Regions from separate parts of the Homo sapiens genome. Here region 2 is linked to region 1. The links are contacts of gene promoters, found by promoter capture Hi-C in blood cells and fetal thymus (Javierre and others, 2016). All regions are on one chromosome and are shown on one strand. Each heading gives the region's core, a stretch centred on a gene start or on the middle of the fragment in contact. The rest is flanking DNA. Distances are from core to core; before and after follow the strand shown. Region 1 holds the start of LINC01620 (long intergenic non-protein coding RNA 1620). Region 2 overlaps PKIG (cAMP-dependent protein kinase inhibitor gamma).

Region 1 (4,433 bases), core at 332-2,831:
ACTACTTCCCAGTCTGGCCTTTTTAATTATAGTCATTTTAGATGCACTCATTTTTTTTAACCTGTGGATCTAATAGATGGTTTCTTAGACTGTCTGGACCTCAGTGTTTTCATGTGTAAAATGGAGATAATTGGCCGGGTGCAGTGGCTCACGCCTGTAATCCCAGCACTTTAGGAGGCTGAGGCAGGCAGATCATGAGGTCAAGAGATCGAGACCATCCTGGCCAACATGGTGAAACCCCATCTCTACTGAAAGTACAAAAATTAGCTGGGCATGGTGGTGTGCACCTGTAGTCCCAGCTACTCGGGAGGCTGAGGCAGGAGAATCACATGAACCCGGGAGGCGGAGGTTGCAGTGAGTCAAGATCGTGCCACTGTACTCCAGCCTGGCAACAGAGCGAGACTCCATCTCAAAAAAGAAAGGAGATAATTACATCAGTTTTGAAAGGTAGTGAAGACAGAGTGAACTAGCACATAAGCACATATGCAGCACATAGAACAGGGACTGGGACATAGTAGGGGTTCCATAAACGGTGGGTTTTTGTTGTTGTTGTTGTTTTTGAGATGGAGTCTCGTGCAGTGTTGCAATCTCAGCTCACTGCAACCTCCGCCTCCCAGGTTCAAGTGATTCTCCTGCCTCAGCCTCCCAAGTAGCTGGGATTACAGGCACGCACCACCATGCCTGGCTAATTTTTGTATTTTTAGTGGAGACAAGGTTTCACCATGTTAGCCAGGCTGGTCTCGAACTCCTGACGTCAGGTGATCCACCTGCTTCGGCCTCCCAAAGTGCTGGATTACAGGTGTGAGCCACCAGCCTGGCCAAGGGTGATTATTTTATTACAATTGAACCACAGCCATCCTATGATCTGGCCACTTACCCCAGGATACAGCATCCTCAACTAGATGGCAAAAAGCCACTTCCTTTGCACTTAGTCAGTGCTGTTAGCCTGGAGGAATAACAATGGCACCATCGATTGTGCCAGGCACTATCCTAGGTGCTTTTGTATGTTGAATCCTTGCAAAGCCCTGTGAGGTGGGTCAGTGTTTGCCTTCTGTATGACAGATGAGAAAACTGGGATGTAGTAACTAGTCATTGGCCAAGGTCACACAGCAGTGAAGTAATGGTGCTGTGATTTGAATCTATGTAGTTTGATTTAGGATCTAGAAGTTTCGCTAATGGATTACCTAGCTCAGAACTAGTGAAAGAGCCCAGTCACAAAAGCACCTCCTGATGCCCAAAATCATTTTCAGCTCCTCAGACACAGAGCCTGAAGCAAAGATTAGGTACTGTGTGATTTATAAAGGAAAGAACCTGTAAGGGATGAAGGGAAGCAAGACAGGGAGGGAAACAAGAAAAGATGTGGTCTCAGGTAAAGTCTAGCAAAAAGGCTGGCTTTGTGTACCTCTGTACGAGTCAGCTGTTGGCTGCCAGCCACCCTGTGGGTGAGGGGAATAAACTCCAGGGTGAGGTGATTCCTGAGATGGCAGTTCTCCGTAGAAATGGAAATAGTAAGCCATTCGAAGCCAACAACTGAAGCATCTGGGGGGATGGTGTTGGTGTGCTAGCCCATGAAGGGCTCAAGAGGTTCCCAGAGGCACACTTCTTGCCTGCCTAATGAATCAAGTTCTAGAACATTCTGGAACATTCACTTCCTAGACTTGTTTTGGAGAATCCTCCTTCTCACTGAGACCAGCATGTTGAACAAACCCAGCCTGTGACATAATCAAAGCATACCTTAATTTGTATCTCCCAGTGTCCTTTCTAAGATGTATTTGGTAGAGAAACATTTTCCCTGCCACTGGGTGAAATCTCCCCATTATTCTTCTGCTTGTTCTGAGGAAACAGGCAATTCTATGGTCACTTTAGGTCACAAACACAACCTCAATTTAGAAATGAGAATGTCCAGTCAAGCTTCTAACCAAAATTCCCAATTTGATTTGGGTTTAAACCTTCTCCCCTCACCCTCAGGCCTGCTTCAGGGAGGTGGTGTGGGTGACTCCTTCTCTATCTCTCCTTCCCTCACCCACCCGTGGGGTACAGTGGGGGGTGTTGGAGATGGCAAGGGGAGAGGAAGGGTCTCCCTTGAGCTGCCACCATCCTGGCTGGCTTCAAGCTGCCCCTTTCTGTCGTGGGCTCCATGGAGATGGCCACTGTCACAGGGGCCCTCTCACTCTTAACCTTGGGGGATGCATCTCTCCTCATAGGGGTCCCTTGCAAGTCCTTCGTCAGCCCTTAGGAACCCAACATCCAACTCAAGCTTCTTGCTGCTGCCACACCTCTGCCCCTCCAGGAGGCTCTAGGGGACAGGACCCAAGAGGACCCCTTGTAGGTGCTCTCTGCCAACACTGGCCCATGGGAAACACTCCAGCCAGCAGCCTGTACTCCGAAAGTCCTGGGAATGTGGCTTACCTTAGCACGCCCACACTGGCTCCTTCACCAGTTCAGCCAGGCAGCCCGTTTCTCTCAGCCTCTAGATGTCCATGCCCACATGAGACCACTGGGCCCCCTCATAATGGCCACACATTATTCTCTACATATAGTGGCCCCTCTCATGGAAGAGCCCCCATGACCCCATTCCACCCTTCCAGGGAGATGGTCACCAAAGAACTCTTTGCTTCCTCTTCCCATCCTAGGAGAATGTGGTGGGTATAGGGGTAATAGTAAATGTGGGGGTTTTGGGTAGCCATGGCCAAATTTTAGCAGCTGTGGGTTTGGACTGGGCTCTTTTTTGTTGTTGTTGTTGTTACGTAAATTAACCCATTTATTACAGGCCAGTGATGTCTCAAAGAGTAGAGGAGCGTCTACTGGTCTTTCAACTCCTTCAGGCTTCTGATGGCGGACTTTACCGTGATAGCGGAGGTGGTATTGTATGTCCAGGCACCGCCAGCCACTGTCTTCACGCGGGAACCACAGTGCCAGATCCCCGCAGCTCATCTCTTCATCTTGGTTTTGCCACAGAAAGAGCAAGTGTACTTGGCCTGCTGGCTGATTTCAACTTTCTTCACCATTTTCCAGAGGGAGGCCCCATAGCGGGTCCCGTATTTACCGACGATCCCGACTTTCTTGGTAGGTTTGGCCATGTCACCGCGAACTAGGTCCGAGCCCAGAGAGTTGGACTGGGCTTTTAAAAAACAGTTACTGGTTGTCACAGCAGAGCTTTCTAGAAACATCTTACAAGTCATGTCCACCACCCCCAGCCTCAGTTTTTTCATATCCTTACTGCGGGTGGCAGCACCTTACTGGGTGGGGGTTTGTGGTGAGGGCTGAGTGAAGTAGTGAATTTGCGGAGCTAACACTCCAGAATTCCACAATCACAGACCTGCAAATTCCATCTCCGTGGGACCATTTACAAGTGATGTGGCTTCTCTGAGTCTGTTTACTCCTTTGTTAAATGGAAGAGCCTCTACTCCATTGCATCTCTGTAAGGTTAGTTAAGTGAATACATATGACATGCTTAGCACGGGACCTGGCACCTGGTAAGAACTCAGTCCATGCTGGGCGTTTTTAATACAACGGTGGGTGGCTGGTACTGACGGAGGGGATTTGGGATCTCCACCCCTTCCGTTTCCCTCACTATTCCAGGCCCTGTTTTGGAAATGCTTCAGCCAGGCTGGGATCCAGGGCCCCTGGGAACAGAGAGGACATACTGTACCTCCAAGCAGCCATGCTGACTCAGGTTAGGAAATCAATGTGTGACCACAAAAACACAGCCAGGTTCTTCCCACTTCTGGGAAATCTGCACAGCCAACCCATGGGCATCTCTTTACCCTGTCCCGAGAGGTGGCCAGCTTCGTTCTAGGACCTGATTCTGCAGCTTGTGAGCACAAGGCTGGCACATGGAGAAACAGGAGTCTCTCGCTCCTTAGGGAACCCCAGGCCCGGGGTCACAAGCTTTGCACGACCCTCTGATTGGGGTCAAACATGTCTGGTGTTTGCGAAGCCTCTGACTTCCCCCAGCCTGCGTCTGGACACTTCTCAAGCCAAGCCAGGCTCCGGACCACTGGTTGGGCAACGCATGACCTCAAACTGGGTCAGACCCATCAGATGAGCATCTGTTTAAGAGTATAGGACACTTTGTTCTTTAGAATCCCAAGGGTCAGAGTATGAACCCTCCCCGTCCCCAATTCAAACTCCTCCTCCATCACTTACTGCCATTTACTTACTCTGTTACTTTGAGCAAGTTTTTCAGCTCTCTGAGTTCTAGTTTTCCTAGCCACCAAATGCAGACTAACAAGTACCTTCACCTTCCAGGGTTGATGTGAGATTCGGGTAGTGAATGTCAAAGAATGGCACACATATTAGCAGGCACTCCATAAGGGGGAGTTATTATTGCAAACAGGGGCACTAGACACCAAGTAAAAAACAGTATGGTACATATGCTACAGTGGATGAGAGGGCAGAGCTGAAAGCCAGACTGCCTGGGTTCCAAACCA
Region 2 (4,112 bases), core at 884-3,383, 150 kb after region 1:
TTCTCAGTCAAGCCTCTCCAAGGGGCCTTCTCTGAGTGCTAGATCAGCCTTCCCCAATCACATGACCCTCATCACTCTCTGACAAGGTCTCAGGGGTCTAAATGTGAGCGCCGGGAGGGCAGAGGCCTTGCATTCTGTTTGGCACACAGCAGGTGCTTGGTAACCACAGACCGAATGACAAAAGGAAACAGCATCCACCCACCCAAGTCCTGGCTGGAACACCCCCACCCCCTCCATTCCCCCAGAGAACCCCTTGGCTCAAGTCCACAGTCAGCCTGGGAATTTCCTTGGGAAGCTTCCCTGACCCCTGCACGGCTGAGGCCTTTCCCTCCTGCTCTCACAGCGCCACAGAGGCCGTGTGTGCTTCTCACAGCACAGCCATCAGGCTGCAACTGTCTCCCCGTGGGCTGTCCGGAGGGCCACAGCCCTGCCCCTCCCTGGGTAGCCCTAGTCTTCTTGCCCCTCACTGGCCAGAAGTGAATCAAAAGTACAGAACAGAGAAGACTTTGCCGGGGCTTGGACCCAGCCCTCTCATGTTACAGATGGACAAACTGAGGCCCAGAGAAGTTGGAGGACTTGCTCTGGGCCACCCAGGGAGTTAACATAGAATCTGGCCGGCTTGAGAGAGAGCCCCCAGCACCCTGTCGACGGAACCCCACCCCAAAAGCCTTCCCTGTCCCATAATCTATTCATTCTCCTCTGTCACGTGGCCCAGGCAGAACCTCCACAGGCTCACCCTGCTCGCCTCTCCAGCATCAACTCTCATCCTCTCGCCAGCCATAGTCAAGTACTTTGATCGCTCAGAAGCCCCTGTGGGCCTTCACACGCTGCACCTCTGTTTGCTTCTCCCCTCCCTCCCCTTGCCTGGCTGGGTTCTCTTCATTCTTAGAGACCCAGGCATCTGCTCAGCTGAGAAGCCTTCCCTGACCGCAGTACCCCTCCCAGACCGGGGAGGCACCTCTTCTCCCTGCTGCCTCCATGAGCCCACTGAGCATAATGGCCCTGCTCTAGACTGAGCTTCTCCAGCACAGGCTCTGTGTCTTGTGCCCTCGGTGCCTGGTGGTGTTTGGCACATGATGGAGGTACCGAGTCAATGGCTGTTCATTGACCGACTGAATGACCAGCATGTCCAGCTGCCACACTGGGCACGCTGCCCTGGGCTCTCTCTCAAGGCTTCTGTGTCCTCACCCTCAGCTCTGGTGAGCTCTGTTCTGTCTCTCTCTCCCTCAGCAGTTGTAGCTGCTGGCCCATGTGCCCAGGCTCTCCTAACACCTGTTTTCCCTGACTCAGATTCCCTAAAGTATGGGTCCTCTGGCTACATGACATTCACCTGCCAGGGTGACTGACATTTAAAAAGGGGGCCTGAGGAAAGAACAGTGCTCACTGAAGGAAAGGAAACACTCACGGTGGCGTCCAGGCAAGAGTGACTGGCCAAGGAGCCTTCCAGGAAGCCCGCAGGGAGCAGTTCCGTTTCACAGGCGGGGCTGCGGGCCACGCCCACTCCAGCGACTCCCCAAGGCAGGGGGAGTACAGAGTTCCAGGCGCCACCCCGCTGGGAATAAAAGCAGGCTTTCCAGGCAGCGGGCTCGGAATAGGGTCCCGAGCTACCACCCACTTCCTAGCTTGCCGCAGGGGCACAGTGAGGCAGTGCTGATGTCAGGCCTCTATAAACCTTCAGGAATGCTGCTTATTGGAGGAGGTTAAATTTGGTAGAAGGGGTACTAGCCTTGGTGGCAGGCAGGGCTCTCCACCCTTGATCCAGGCAAATCAGCTCACCTCGCTGGGCCTCGGTTTTCTCATGCATATCATGACCCTAGTTACACCTCCATGTTACTGTGTGCATTGCACGAGAAAGTGCCCATCCATCTGCAGACCCTGGAGCTTGCTATAGGGTGGTGATTCTCCTGGTTCTGTGAAGGGCTTAGCCTGAAGGATAAAAAGGTGTGGTCTGGTTGGGCTGGATTTGAACTCAGGCCCTCAGTGAGCTTGTAGGGCACCTAGTAACATTGCACAGTGTCACTGGGGTTTAAGAATGTACCACCTATTGAGCTCTGCCCACATGCCAGGCCCCACGTGGTGCACCTTATGAAAAGACACCTGTTTATCATGCAGCCTGAGGAGGAAAGCATGGAGACTGGGGCCTGGGTGTGAGTTTGGCACTCCCCTCAACCTGCACTGCTGGTCCAGTGGGTGGCAGGAGCTGCCTGTCCCACCTTGCACAGGGGGGCTCAAGGGAAGCTGAAAGTGAGGAGACTTGGCTTGTATCCTGACTCCCCTCAGTGAGGTGCTCCATCTCTGTGAGCCTGCTGCTGCCCCTCACCCCACCAAGATGTCTGACAGGATGGATTTGAGAAGGAGGTACAACACACACCCCATGATGCACGGTTGGCCCCCACAGACTCTGATGCAGGCCACACCCTGGCGCTCCCTGAGCTGGCCTGGTTCAGTGCTCTTTACTCTCTTAGAAGAACATTGGCCGGGCACGGTGGCTCACACCTATAATCCCAGCACTTTGGGAGGCTGAGGCAGGCAGATCACCTGAGGTCAGGAGTTTGAGACCAGTCTGGCCAACATGGTGAAACCCCGTCTCTACTAAAAATACAAAAATTAAAAAAAAAACAAACAAACAGAACAGCTGCCATTTGCTGAGCACCTGTGACACACTGGGGACTTAACATCTGGCCTCTCCCTCTGGGGAACCTGCACAAACAAAGCAACCTTCAAGAGCCCTTCACTTGATGCTTTAAGCACCCATCCATAATGGCCCTTAATTGACTCTTAATTATACTAACAAACACTATGTGTATTTCCATGTAAAAAGATGTTACAGACCAGGCTAAAGTCCATAGGCCACCACCACCTCAGTCCAGCTCCAGCTCGTCTTGCTCCCCAGGGCATATCCACTGCTATCAGTTTGGCTGGGCCCTTTCACACCTCCTTCTGTGCATTACTTTGTGTATATGTGCCCAAGAAAAACCTCTTTCTCTCCTCTCCAGAAGGACAGGTGGAGGGAAGCGCCCCAGACAAGGAAGCTGGCAACCAGCCCCAGAGCAGCGATGGGACCACCTCGTCTTGAATCTGACCTTGTCCAAGAAGGCTGGACGAGAGACCTTCTGTCCCCTCCCAGAGGGGGAACCCTGGCACTGGCCCAGCAGCCTCTTCTCTGAGCTCCATGTCCCAGATAAACCAGGCCAGACTGAGAAGGCTCCCCAGAGGCCTCTGTGGCCTCCACTCCGGGAAAGCCCTCTGCCCACACCCACAGGCTTCACATTCCCACCACCTTCGCACCGTGCCCAGGTACACTTTCAAGACACTGTAACCACAAGATGTTATTTATTGAGCTGGCGCCGGGACTTGGGCGGGGCCTGCCCTACAGTGAGCAGCCCACACAGGAACGCTCCTCTCGCGAGCGGCCCGGGCAGGGACCCTGTCCCAACACCAACACCTCCTCTCCAGCCCAATCTTCTGGGTCCAGACCTGCTTGTCCCTTTTTTAGAAAACACTTTTAAACTTTTTAAAAATTTTAAACCTTTTTTCAGCAGATATGGAGAGAGCTGACAATCAATTCACATTTTTTAAGCCATTTTAGCTAAACTGTCATTGTGCATCTCTGAGGTTCCCTCATGGAGCTCCACAGATCCATTTTTAGGGAAGGGATTTTGGCTCAAAACGATCTGACCACCTCTGCCCTGTCCACCAGGATAAGTGACACCTAGGACCCAGGAAATAAATGCCGATGATTTGTGTGACTGGTTTAAGATTATTTCTCCTTAACCTTGCAAAAACAGGGGTTGGGCCTTATTTTCCCCAAGTCCACAATTAGCCGGACTTGCCCCAGGCTTCTAGAACATACGATTCTGAGAAGATGCTGGCGTTCTGCAGAGGCCAGCACCCTCCAAGGCCAGTGTCTGATGAGCCCTCTTCCATCTCATCTGCTCTCACCCCAACTGCCAGCTTCAGGAACCCAAAAGGAAGCTTTACTCCTTAAAACCTAGAGTTAGGAGGGGCTGAGAGTTCAGGGAATGTTTGAGCAACAACCAGAGAAGCCTTATTTCTTCTGGAAGGAGGACAGCCTCTGGACCCCTCTTGGCCCACAGCATTGGGATCTCTGG

Evidence for each region. Contacts are between HindIII fragments. The CHiCAGO score rates a contact against its expected background, and 5 or more counts as called.
Region 2: a fragment that was not itself captured here is called in contact with the fragment with the promoter of LINC01620 in region 1 in 7 of 17 cell types (megakaryocytes, erythroblasts, M0 macrophages and 4 more); the score reaches 13.1 in megakaryocytes.

Annotation. Positions count from the first base shown.
Region 1 is chr20:44,463,763-44,468,195 of GRCh38, forward strand. LINC01620 (long intergenic non-protein coding RNA 1620) reads right to left here and starts at 1,582. Exons shown (of 3, transcript NR_132343.1): 1 at 1,403-1,582. It also overlaps the pseudogene RPL37AP1. The HindIII fragment of the contact is 2,937 bases long and covers 1-1,909 here.
Region 2 is chr20:44,615,289-44,619,400 of GRCh38, forward strand. It overlaps PKIG (cAMP-dependent protein kinase inhibitor gamma), which reads left to right. Exons shown (of 4, transcript NM_001281445.2): 4 at 2,997-3,749. The coding sequence ends at 3,076. Among named protein-coding and RNA genes, the nearest start is that of ADA, 34 kb to the right of the region's middle. RefSeq lists enhancers at 462-591, 2,486-3,213. The HindIII fragment of the contact is 3,680 bases long and covers 294-3,973 here.